2 separate regions of the Homo sapiens genome follow, and region 2 is linked to region 1. The links are contacts of gene promoters, found by promoter capture Hi-C in blood cells and fetal thymus (Javierre and others, 2016). All regions are on one chromosome and are shown on one strand. Each heading gives the region's core, a stretch centred on a gene start or on the middle of the fragment in contact. The rest is flanking DNA. Distances are from core to core; before and after follow the strand shown.

Region 1 (6,599 bases), core at 1,200-3,699:
AGTCTCACTCTGTTGCCCAGAGTGGAGTGCAGTAGCCCGATCTCAGCTCACTGCAACCTCCACCACGCAGGTTCAAGCGATCCTCATGCCTTAGCCTCCCAAGTAGCTTGGTGGGATTACAGGTCTGGCTAATTTCTGTATTTTTCAGTAGACACGGGGTGTTATCAAGTTGGCCAGGCTGGTCTTGGACTCCTAACCTCAAATGATCTGCCCGCCTTAGCCTCCTAAAGTGCTAGGATTACAGGCGAGAGCCACCGTGCCCGGCTGAAATCTTACTTTTAATTGGAGTTAATAAAAACATACAAAGACACGAAAACAAAGCCCTACTCTGTTGGCTTTTGATTTAACCCCGTTACACTTTTTTTTTTTTTTTTTTTTTGAGGCGGAGTCTCGCTCTGCCGCCCAGGTTGGAGTGCAGTGGCACAATCTTGGCTCACTGCAACCGCCGCCTCCTGGGTTCAAGCGATTCCCCTGTCTCAGCCTCCCGAGTAGCTGGGATTACAGGCGCCTGCCACCACGCGCAGCTAAATTTTTTCTATTTTTAGTAGAGACGGGGTTTTGCCATGTTGGCCAGGCTAGTATCGAACTCCTGACCTCAGCTGATCCGCCTGTCTTGGCCTCCCAAAGTGCTGGGATTACAGGTGTGAGCCACCGCTCCCAGCAACCCCGTTACATTTCTTATATAAAATACACTAGCTTACGAGTGCTGATTCTTTCTGCCATACACCAAGGCATGTGAAACTCAAAATTTTAAAGTCAACAGATCTCAACATTTATGAAGAAAATGCTCCTTGATTATGCCTTCCTTAAAAAAAAAATGAACAAGTTGCTCACAAGCAAATCCTGATTATCACATACACAAAGCTGTTTACTTCAGACTCTGACCTCTTAAGCAGATATGGTTAACAGCTACTTTCCTGTATTGACGGTTTTATATTATGATCAGCGATATCACGCAGTTCACAGAGACTTAGCTGTTTGCAGAGCACTAAGAGGATGAAAAGGGCAACCTCTAAAGACCGAACGATATCATCATTACTGTCCATCATGCACAGTAAGACCTCCTATATCCTTAAATCCAAAATGAGACTATGTGATAACTGCTCCCTTCTTAAACTGAAACCTGCACTGCAGCTTTTTCTCAGAGAAGGAAATATTCCTCCTACCCCTTCCCAATTTAGATTTGCAAGTTTTCTACATTTTCAAAAACAAAAAACAAAAAAACAAAAAACAAACAACAAGAAACGTAGACTAGTTGGGAGGAGCCCCTAGCGGAGTTAATTACAGCACTTCACAGATCGTAGTTAGCAATTGACAGTTTCACACCCAAAACAGTATCGTCATCGCCAACAAGAGCTTTTGTTTGCAAATGCAGCGCAGTTTTTCTAGCTTTGCCTGCAAGTTGGAGTGACTGGGTTTTATTCTGAAGGGAAATGGGGGCTGAGGAAGAGAAAGGAGAGAGATACGGGAAAGAGTCATTGACTAATGACTGGAACCCCGTAACTGAAAGGAAATTTCTTGTCCCCCCGCACCCCGCCCCACGCCCCAAACACACACACTTCTGACCATAAACACAAAAGGTTGGGGCTCTGCAATCTTATCTGCGCAATATGAGCCAGCAACCGCTCCATTAGTAGCAAACAATAGGGACTCCCCCAAGGAGGCCCCAAATGGACCCCCTAAACCAGAAATCCCCCTCCTTTCCTCCAAGAGTCGGGGGCTCCATAAATACCCTCTTGTTATTGACCCGCAAGGCCTACTGCAATCAAGCAGCGGCCGGTTTGCTTCTAAACCGAGCCCTCCAATACAGCATGTCCCTGCCGCCCCCTATAGGGCCGCCTCGTACCCTATAACCTCCACCATCATCCCCCTAAGTCCTTGCCGCCCCCTTCGGCCTCATATTCCCTCATCTTCGATAAAGCTACTCCGAGTACTTAGCCTGTTCCTCCTGCCGACCCTGCTGCGCACCACATTCCTATATTCGCCTCCTCTCAGGCGCTCCCACCCCACACAGCTGCCGACCGCCTTCCTCCCCAGGCCCGGCCAGGCCTTAGGCCTCCGCCCGAGAGTCCCCCAGAGCCGGCCCGGGGGGCTCCCCACAGCCCCCAAAGCACCGCTGACCTCGACCCCACCACCTCACCCCAAGCCTCGCGACTCGGGCCCGTGTCCTACCAACGAGGCCACTCCCGCTCGGCACCCTCGGTCCTTTATTGTTGACTCGAAGCTCCCAAAATGGCGGACGCTCCTTCCTCCTCGGAAACCTCCGCCCGCCCCCACCCAGCCCTCTCGCTACGGCCTCCTCTCGCCCCCGCCCCCGCCCCGCTCCGAGGGGCGCGCAGGCCAGCCGCCCGAGCCGCCGGCTCCCCCGGCTGTCCAGCCCTACCTCCTCCGCTGCCCGCTCTCGTGGCGCCGCCGAAGTCGCCGCCTGGCTGAGCTAACTCGGCTCCTCTGCCCCCTCCCTCGCTCGCCCGTTCGCCCGCCCGCCGCCTCCTCCCTCTTTCCCTGCCTCTCCGCATGGCGGCGACCGCGGCTCCTCCTCCACTCAAGATGGCGAAACCTCGGCCGCCGCGGCTATATTCGCCGCGGCGTCACTGCCTTCCTGGCCTGGTGGTGAGAGGAAGTCGGGCCGCGAAAGCTTCCTGAGGAGAAAATGGAGGGCCCTTCTCTCACACCGACGAGAAAAGTTCGAGGGGGAAATACGAGTTCCTTTCTGAAGGGACAGGACGGCTGCTTTTCCACAGCCGCGACGTGATTGAGAAATGGTGGCTGGCAAGGGTAGGCCTGCCTTCGCCCCTCCAAAGTAAAAATCGGGAGTTGAGACCAGAGGAACATCTCTTTATTACATGACTAAGGATATGTTTTGAAAACTGGCCCCCGGGCAGCTGCTCGGGGACAGGAAGCTGACCTGACTTCTCCAGCTGGCCGGGGAGGCTGATGCCGGGCCTAAGGGGCCGCGTCCGAGCCTCTCGGGGCGCGCCTCCATGCAGGAAGGCGCGGAACTAGCGACCCGGAGACGCCGGGCGCGCGTCTGAGTGTGGGGGCAGGAAGGGGGGCCGACCGGGCCCGGAGGCCGCACCAGGCAGGAGGGAGGACTCCAGAGAGTGCGCGGGGGGCGCTGCGCGGTGGGACGGGGCGAGCCTGTAGGGCGCGCCTGGCGGCGGGTAGGCTCCGGGCTTGAGGGTGCGCCTGGGGGCGCTGGTTGTGGGGGAAGGCACCGGGCTTGAGGGTGCACCTGGGCGGGGGAAGTCTTCGGGCATGAGGGCGCGCCTGCGGGTGGTATGGGGGGGTACACCGAGCTTGAGGGTGCGCCCGGGGGGCTCTCATGTGAAGGGTACCAGGCTTGAGGGCGCCCCTGCGGGGGGCGCAGAGGCACCGAGCTTGAGGGTGCGCCTCGGGGGTCTGCGGGGGGAAGGCACCGGACTTGAGCGTGCGCCGGGAGAGGACGGCGGGGGACCGGACTGTGAGGGCGTATCTTGGGGGACCTGTCTAGGAGGAACCGGGAGGTGAAGGCACAACTGGGGGTGAGGCGGGGGCAGGGGCCGGGCTGTGAGAGTGCGACTGAGGGGGGATTACTCCGGAGAGCACGGAGCTGGGGGCGTTGCGCAGGTGGAGTGGGGAGGCCTGGTGGAGAGGGTAGCAAACCGAGAGAGCGCACCGGGGTGGTGGGGGGAGAAGCTGGACTGTAAGGTGAAGAGTTAGTAGGGCGCAACCGTCTTCTCCTGCCCTCGAAGGGCAAGACTGAAGAAAGTAGGGGCGGAGGAGGCCGGGCCCTCCACTAAAGGGAGGGAAGCTAGTGAAGCGTCAGTTATAATAGAAATAGGAATTCAGTAAGGAAATGGAGAAGCTTAAGGCAAAGGGTGACTCTCCGGCCTGACCCTCACTATGAAGATATTTATGTATGTTCCCATAATACTTTTCAGATCCCAATGTCTGTGTTTATCCTTGACAGAAATAATAGAACTGCTGTCTTCTTCCAAGTTAAACAAAACTTTGGAGCTAAAAGCTAGCTAGGTCAAGAGAAACAAAATCTAATCCTCACCCAATTGAGAGACTGAATATACAAAGAATGGCCAAACCTAACCATGACCTCCTACCCATAACCTCTTCAGTAATCGGCCAGAAGGGTCAGGACTTAATCTTTAACCGGCAGCTTCCCTATTTCTTGCCCCTGCTTCCAGCTCTGGGCCAATCAGAGAAAGCCAAATGTGCTCCTCACACCAATCGCGTAAGAAGCCCTGCTTCTAGTATAGCCCTCCTCCAACTTCCCGATGCCAACATCCTCCAATCAGAGCCAACCTGAAGTTTCTCCCTTTTTTCAGTATATGTAAAGCTTTTCCACTCCCCTGCCTGCCTATGAGTCTGTTAAATCAAGTGATGGGTCGCGGCTGACTCTTGCCAGCTCTGAGTAAATAGCCTATTCTCATTTGGTGGTCGTTATTTCTACACAGCCGGTGGGAAGGTGGTGGAGAATAGTGAAGACTATTCTTAAGGTTAAAAAGAAGGTTCGGCTTACATTTTTTTTTTATTTTAAATTTACAGCATGGCGTCTCCAGCCCAGGTTTTAAAATACCTTCTAATGTAAGGAAATAGCCCTGCACCTTGTGCCCATCCTAGAGAGAAAATGGTTTCTTAATAAAAAATGTATGAGGCCTTTTTTGCCCCAATATCTTCCCAAGCAGAGGAATGTGAAGGGGGGTTGGGCCAAGAAGTGAGTGGTAGGAAGAGAGGCCTACGGATTTAAAACAGGCCACTGCTTGGAGGGGTGTCTTTCCTAAACCACTGAAGAAATTGAACCAGGCAAAGGAAGGGGGTTCACACCCACAAATAAACTATAACCTACAAAAGGAGCCCGGGTTCACATCCACAAATAAATTGTAACCTACACAAGGAGTCTGGTTGAGGTCACAAAACAAAAGCCAGGAGGCAACCAAAAGTAGAATATGAAATAGGTGCTGCCTTCTCACCTAGGAATCCTTCCAGGGCTAAAACCTTCAAATATTCTGCTTTTAAGGTAGTCAGATACCCTCACAACTCATTTACATCAGCCCTTCTCTGTTTTCAAGTGAGAAGCATAGATGGTTTAGAATTAAGCTATGAACTCTTGGATCTTTTCTTCCAAGTTTAGTGTTAGTGGTAGATAGGTCTAGTCCAACTATCTCAATACATTGTTTTCTCCCTAGTTAAAACAGATTTGCAAGAATCATTTGTATGACACTTTAGGAATACAGATAAATTGCTAGTGCAAATAATATCCTTATATTTATAAAATATATGTGTACTTTTAAAAAAGTTATATGAATCCAATCCTCTGGCCTTTTAGTTAGTATTGAGTGTGATAGTTGTGGGAGATCTGTAGTAAATACGGTTTCTGAAGGGTGTGCTATCATCCCTAATGAACTCACCTATTAATTGTGGTAAAGAGTTTTTCACTTGGGCTGGGCACGGTGGCTCACGCCTGTAATCCCAGCACTTTGGGAGGCCGAGGCAGGTGGGTCGACTGAGGTCAGGAGTTCCAGACCAGCCTAGCCAACATGGTGAAACCCCGTCTGTACTAAAAAAAAAAAAAAGAAAAAAAATAGCTGGGCATGGTGGCAGGTGCCTGTAATCCCAGCTACTTGGGAGGCTGAGGCAGGAGAATCCCTTGAACCTGGGGAGGCGGAGGTTGCAGTGAGCCAAGATCGTGCCATTGCACTCCAGCCTGGGCAACAAGAGCAAAACTCCGTCTCAAAAAAAAAAAAAAAAAGAAAAAGAAAAAGAAATGAAAAAAAAAGTTTCCCAACATGTATTAGCCGTTTTCATGTTGTCTGTATTCACCTTTGCGTCATCACCCCTCTTCAATTTCCTCCTGGAATTCAATCACAGTAATGGGTTATCTCAGCATATATTATTCGCCAGTCTCACATCCTGACCTCATTTATTTACCTAAAAATAACCAGAACGAAAAAAAAATCACAGATTAATTTACACTTGATTTCACTTTAACTTCAATTTAAAATACTTAGAATCCAGAATTCCTAGTAAGTTGAACCTGGAATACGCAGACCTGTGATAATATCTTAAACACTCAAATGTTTTCAACTTGCTGAAATGGAGTTCACACTTTTAACATTCTGGGCTTTTTTTTTAAAAGGGACTATAATACTTTAACTCAAATTACAATCAAATGTGTTCATTACCTATAAGAAAAAAATTTTACCTATCTCATATCTTCAGTGAAATGATTATATCACATCTGGCTAAGCTTTACCATTTGGTATTTGCCCTCTTTCAAGTGATTTGCAGTATAATACTTTGATTTCCCAAAATTTCAACATACAAAGTTATTTTCCAAATATGCTCAAGCAACATCTGATCATCACTAACAAGACTAAAGGCTAATATGCCCAAGGAGCCAAGTCCCGTTTTCTTGGGACTTCATAGCAGGTAAAAATTGCCTTTTCAATTTATACACCTGAAGAAAGTGAAGCAGCATCAGTCACTGAGGGCTTAGTAGAGATGTCCTCAGAGAGGTGCACATACTGCGCTGAAGTTGATGCATACTAAGCAGGCGTGCTTAATCACTGAGAGGTTACATCAGGCACATTTTGTTGGAATAAATG
Region 2 (6,639 bases), core at 2,267-4,766, 110 kb before region 1:
GCTGATATCATGTGGACCAAAACCCCAACCCTCTACACACATGCTTGGCCTTTCTGGCACGGCCTGCCTTCATGTGGAGTCGTCTTGTTAGCAGAAGCTGTCTAGGGACCCACCATAAGTCACCTCATTAACAAAAGCTACCAAGAGCCTGGGAAACATGGCAAAACCCCATCTCTACAAAAAATACAAAAATTAGCCAGGCATGGTGGCACACACCTAGTCCTAGCTATTCAGGAGGCCAAGGTGGGAGGATCACCTAAGCCCAGAGAGATTGAGGCTGCAGTGAGCCATGACTGCACCACTGCACTCCAGCCTGGGTGACAGAGTGAGACCCTGTCTCAAAAAGCAATCAGGCCAGGTGCAGTGACTCATGCCTGTAATCCCAGCACTTTGGGAGGCCAAGGTGGGTGGATTGCTTGAGGTCAGGAGTTTAAGACCAGCTGGCCAACATGGTGAAACCCCGTCTCTACTAAAAATACAAAAATTAGCCAGGCGTGGTGGTGCGTGCCTATAGTCCCAGCTACTTGGGAGGCTGAGGCAGGAGAATCACTTGAACCCTGGGGGCAGAGGTTGCATTGAGCCAAAATGCTCACCACTGCACTGCCAGCCTGGGCAACAGAGCTAGATTGCTGTCTCAAAAAAAAAAAGAAAGAAAAAAACAACAACAAAAAAACACTAATCAGGGACCACTATTAATAACAGACATTCCTATCACTTGGGAGATTCCAAGGAGCTTAGAGGTTACTTTGGAGGAACCCAAGACAAAAATGAAACTAATTCCTCATTATACAAGAAGTGGCTTATACATGAAAGGATTGACTCAGCAGGTCTGCTGTGTTCAAACCCTGCACATTTCAGAGAAAATTCTGGCCTGTGACCAGCCCTGAGAGATGAGATTTAAATTACCAAAATATGCTGCCTGATAAGTCTTTGTTTTTCTGGGGCCTTGGGCCATGCCAGATATTTGATGCTAATAATGTGATTTGTGGCAGGGGCCTTTGGCCGCCCAGTATCAGTTTGAACTCTGGAGAGTGAGTAACTGAGGTCAGCCACACAGGTAGTCCACGCTTTCATCACTGACCTCCAATAAAAACACTGGACACCAAGACTCAGGTGAGCTTTTGTGATTGGCAATACTTCATGCGTGCTGTCACATGTTATTGCTGGAAAAATCAAGTCCTGTCCATATAAATCCACTGGGAGAGGAAAAACTGGAAGATTGAGATTATTTTCTCCTGGACTTGGCCCTAGAATATTTCACCTTTGATGGCTTTAACATGTATCTTTTCACTGTAAGAAACCATAATCAAGGCTGGGCACGGTGGTTCATGCCTGTAATCCCAGCACTTTGGGAGGCTGAGGCAGGCGGATCACAAGGACAAGAGATTGAGACCATTCTTGCCAACATGGCAACACCTCTGTCTCTACTAAAAATACAAAAATTAGCTGGGCGTGGTGGCAGGTGCCTGTAGTCCCAGCTACTGGGGAGGCTGAGGCAGGAGAATCGCTTGAACCCAGAAGGTGGAGGTTGCAGCGAGCCGAGATTGCACCACTGCACTCCAACCTGGCGACAGAGCGAGACTCTGTCTCAAAAAAAGAAAAAAAATGAAACCATAATCATGGTATAACCATTTGGAAGTGTTAGTGAATCACTGGCCTGAGGTTGGTCTTAGGGAACACCAGTAAAGTCATCTTCCCCTACATTTGGCAAACAGCCTAATGCTTGACAAAGCACTGGACCACCCAGCCTCTCTGAAGTCCTCATTACAATTGCTCAGGACAAAACCTATTAATTATCCCAGGTACACTTTTCCCCTTTATATTCCACAATTGTCATGGGCAAGCACTGTCAACTCTCCCTGTAACACACACCCTCTATTGAACCCCTTGTCTCTGTCTCTAGTCTAACCACTGGAACCCAAGCCCAAACCTTGTTGCCTGGAGCCCCGCTCTCCCCGGACCTGTTCCCACTCTGCCCCAATCACACAGGCCTTCGTCCCAATCCCTGAACAGTGCGTCAGGGCCTCTGCATGGCCCTTTCCATGCCTGGACTGTCCTCTCCCAGATCAGCTCAGCAATGGTTCCTGCCACAATTCTGCTTACACATCACCTCCTCAGAGACACCGTCCCTCCCCATCCTCTCTAACACACCCTCTGCTCACCCACACCAGCGGGCCCTAACTTCTCTCTACTTCAAACTGTGCTTCTGTTACTGTTTTGCTTCTATTATTATTATTATTATTATTTGAGATAGAGTTTTGCTCTTGTTGCCCCGACTGGAGTGCAATGGCATGATCTTGGCTCACTGCAACCTCCACATCCCAAGTTCAAGCGACTCTCCTGCCTCAGCCTCCCGAGTAGCTGGGATTACAGGCGTGCGCCACCATGCCCGGCTAATTTTGTATTTTTCATAGAGATGGGGTTTCACCATGTTGGCCAGGCTGGTCTCGAACTCCTGACCTCAGATGATAGCTCCCACCTTGGCCTCCCAAAGTGCTGGGATTACAGGCATGAGCCACCGTGCCCAGCTGTTTTTCTTCTATTATTATTGTTCTTGCAGGAGCTGGTAAAGTGGCTGATGTGGCCACAGCTCCATAAATCCATGTGGAACGAAGGGTGGACATCGCCTGAGTCCAGGAGACAGGACAGGGTCACTCATCTCTGTCCCTGGTGATGGAAACTCAGGCTCAGGAAAGAGCCTTGACCTGCCCTGGGTCACAGAGAGAATATGAGGGTCAGGGCTCAAGCCCAAGTGCTGTCTTCAGGCCCTTAGGCTGCCTCTCACACCCAGACTAGGAAGCTGGAGCAGAAAGTTTGCTAGAACAATCCTGAGAAGAGGCCTGCACAGTTCAAGGGGCAGCTTGGAGGAGGAGAGGAAGGGAGGGCGGGCTCTGGCCAGCAGGCTCTTGGACCTCAGGCCAGGCTCTGGCAGCTGCGTCTGGTATCAGGACTGCAGGTCCCGACAGGGGGCGGTGGCTCACGCTTGTATTCCCAGCACAGTCGCCAAGCCTAATGTCCCTTCCAACGGTGGAAAATTTTGGTAAAAATCAATGACAGGCTGGGCGTGGTGGTGCATGCCTGTGATTCCAGCTACTCAGGAGGCTGAGGCACGAGAATCTCTCGAACCCGGGAGGTCTAGGCTGCAGTGAGTGGAGATGGTGCCACTGTACTCCATCTGGACGACCGAGCAAGACTCTAACAACAACAACAAAAAAAACGGACTGCAGGTGCAGTGCCCAGCACAGAGCCTGCTACATAGGAATTCTCATTTTCTTCTCTTCCCTACTCTTTCCTTCCTTTATAATCTCTTCCTTTCCCTCTGAAGTACCGACCCCAGAGCTTGAGATCTCATCCCAGCCTCCCTCTTATTGCCATCCTCCCCTGCTGCCTTCCCCACACCCCTACCTCTCACAGGGTGGGGGTAGGGCCTCCTGGGACCCCAGTCCCAGCCCCAGCAGCAGTAGCAGGCACAGCTCCCAGGTCCTCCCTGGCATGGTGGCTGTGACTGTGACTGAATGAGCAAGCCCAGGCACCTTCGGCTTGCTGGGCACAGCCTGGCTCACCTGCCTGTCCAAGTCGGCCAAAGTCCAGCCTTTGAGGCGTGGCCACCTGAGGGGACGTGTGCTTGGTCTGTGTGTGGCCCGCTTGCCCCTCCTGCTCTCAGGGCACAGTGGCCACCTCCCTTGCTTCTACTTTGCCTCTTCTATTTCACAGTCTCAGCTGGTGCCAATGGCTCAGGCCCTTCCCTCAGAGCATGGTGGTGGGGGTGGGGAGTGGGCACCCAAAGGCCAGGGACACAGTCGAGGCCACACACCTGTAACCTGGATGCCAGGTTCCTTGGGTGGCCCCAAGACCACCAACCTCAGAGAGTTACCATTTCCCTTAACATTTCAAATGGAATGGCTCAAGATCCTGTCCCTGGTGTGGTGTGAAATTCAGGGCCTCTCACTGTTATCTGCAAGAGATACAGCGGAAGCACAGGACAGTAGAACCATTCTGTCTGGGGAGGACTAAGGGAGACCCACAATAGTGTGTCATTTGTAATGAGTCTTTTTTTTTTTTTTTTTGAGACTGAGTCTCACTCTGTCGCTAGGCTGGAGTGCAGTGGCGTGATCTCAGCTCACTGCCACCTCCGCCTCCCGGGTTCAAGCAATTCTCCTGCCTCAGCATCCTGAATAGCTGGGACTACAGGTGCCCGCCACCACGCCCAGCTAATTTTTGTATTTTTAGTAGAGACGGGGTTTCACTGTGTTGGCCAGGATGGTCTCAATCTCTTGACCTCATGATCTGCTCGCCTTGGCCTCCCAAAGTGCTGGGATTACAGGCGTGAGCCACTGCGCCAGTCCTAATGAGTCTTGATGACCGCATAGGAGTTTGCCAAGGGAAATGGGCTGGAGACCACTACAATGTATGCAGAGCATGTGAAGAGAAGAGCAAACCCCTCAGCCTAGCTGCAGAGAACTTGGTGTTCATGCAGGGAAGGGTTTTGAGATAGACTGGAGGAACATGTTGGCACCAGTCTGGAAATGGTCTTTGCCAAGCCAAGGAATGTAATTCCTTGTAATTCCCCAAAGTGGAACCAGCAGAGAAGTTTGTGAGCTTAAGAAGCAGATTCAGGCTGGGTGCAGTGGCTCATGCCTGTAATCCCACCACTTTGGGAGGCCGAGGCGGGTGGATCACCTGAGGTCAGGAGTTCAAGACCAGCCTGGCCAACATGGTGAAACCCCGTCTCTACAAAAATACAAAAATTAGCTGGGCATGATGGCGGGTACCTGTAATCCCAGCTCCTCAGGAGGCTGAGGTGGGAGAATCGCTTGAACTCGGGAGACAGAGGTTGTAGTGAGCCGAGATCATGCCACTGCACTCCAGCCTGGGCGACAGAGTAAGTCTCTGTCTCAAAAAAAAAAAAAAAAAAAAAAAAGCAGATTCGGTTACTTTAGGAGGCTCATCCCCTCAACATATGGAAGGTGAGCTGAAGGGACAGGGGACAGGGGGTGGGCAAGGCACATGGAGTTTAATGATAGGCATGACCTCTCCTGAAGGACTTAGGTTTGCAGTTAAGGATGTCAGTTGTGGCACCTGAGCAGTGTTTACTGCTATTAAAAAGAAAAACCTTAGACAAATTAAATTTAACCATTTATTCAAGCAAAGAAATGACTCATGAATCAGGCACCACTCTGAACTAGTAAAGGTTCAGATAGCTCCACCCAGTAATGTGGGCAGCTGGCATTGTTTTTTTTGTTTGCTTTGTTTTTTGAGACAGGGTCTCGCTCTGTTGCCCAGGCTGGCATGCAGTGGCTCCATCACAGCTCACTGCAGCCTTGATCTCTCAGGTTTAAGGGATTCTCCCACCTCAGCCTCCTGAGCAGCTGGGACCACAGGCACATGCCACCACGCCCAACTAATTTTTAAATTAAAAATAATTTTTTTTTTTTTAGAGATTGGGTCTCCCTATGTTGTCCAGGCTGGTGTGGAACTCCTGAGCTCAAGCAATCCTCCTGCCTCATCCTCCCAATGTATTGGGATTACAGGTGTGAGCCACCATGCCTGGTCAACAATTTTTAAGTGTACAATTCAATTTCCTTTTATTACATTCACAATGCTGTGCAACCACCCTTGCATTCTTTGGATAAATCTCACTTGGTCATGATGTCTAATCCTTTTAATAAACTGTTGGTTTTGGCTTGCGAGTATTTTTTTGAGGAATTTTGCATCAATATGTATAGAGCATATTTGACTGTAATTTTCTTTCCTTGTTTTGTTTTGTTTTTTTTTTTTTTTGGACACATAGTCTTGCTCCATCACCCAGCAGGCTGGAATACAGTGGCATGAACACAGCTCACCACAACCTCGACTTCCTGGGGCTCAAGTGGTCATCTGGCCTCAACCTTCTGAGTAGCCAGGACTACAGGTGCATGCCACCACGCCTGGGTAATTTTTAAATTTTTTTGTAGAGACTACATCTGACTGTGTCGCCCAGGCTGGTCTTGAACTCCTGGCCTCAAGTGATCCTCCCGCCTTGGCCTCCCAAAGTGTTTCTCCCCAAGTGTGAGCCACCATGCCCAGCCCTCTTGTGATGTCTTTATCTGGTTTTAATATCAGGGTAATGTTAGCCTCATAGCATGAGTTAGGAAATATGCCCCTCTTCTATTTGTGGAAGTGTTTGAGAAGGATTGTTAATTCTTTAAATGTTTGGTAGAATTTACCAATGAAGCCATCTGGTCCTGGACCGTATTAGGCAGAAACAATACATATATGGGGGATGGGGGTAGAGAGAGAGAGTTTGAGAGGTAGCTGGCAAGTCCAAAATCTCTAGGGTAGGCTGGCAGGCTGGAGAAACAGGGAAGAAGCTGCAGTTCAAGTCTGAAGGCAGCATGCTGAGAGAATTCCTTCTTCTTCTGGGGAGGTCAGTCTTTTTCAAATTAAAGTCTTCAACTGATTGGATAAGGCCCATCCAAGTTAGGGAGGGTAACCTGCTTTACTCAAAGTCTACAAATTTAAATGTTATTTTCATCTAAAAAATATCTTCACAGAAACATCTAGAATAATGCTTGACCAACTATCTGGATACCTTTGCCTAGCCATGTTGACACATAAAATTAAACATCTTTTTTTTTTTTTTTGAGATGGAGTCTCGCT

What was found. The method cuts DNA at HindIII sites, captures the fragments that hold promoters and counts their contacts. A CHiCAGO score of 5 or more calls a contact.
Region 2: the fragment with the promoter of TREH here is called in contact with the fragment with the promoter of DDX6 in region 1 in 4 of 17 cell types (non-activated CD4 T cells, naive CD4 T cells, naive CD8 T cells and 1 more); the score reaches 7.3 in non-activated CD4 T cells.

What each region holds. Positions count from the first base shown.
Region 1 is chr11:118,788,715-118,795,313 of GRCh38, forward strand. DDX6 (DEAD-box helicase 6) reads right to left here and starts at 2,450. Exons shown (of 14, transcript NM_004397.6): 1 at 2,384-2,450. RefSeq lists enhancers at 1,050-1,607, 1,066-1,245, 2,556-2,665, 3,282-3,837, 4,226-4,335 and silencers at 1,446-1,525, 2,156-2,485, 2,936-3,225. The HindIII fragment of the contact is 4,863 bases long and covers 1-2,633 here.
Region 2 is chr11:118,676,134-118,682,772 of GRCh38, forward strand. It overlaps TREH (trehalase), which reads right to left and starts at 3,517. Exons shown (of 15, transcript NM_007180.3): 1 at 3,406-3,517. The coding sequence starts at 3,494. RefSeq lists enhancers at 2,747-3,408, 3,409-4,068. The HindIII fragment of the contact is 8,736 bases long and covers 1-6,639 here.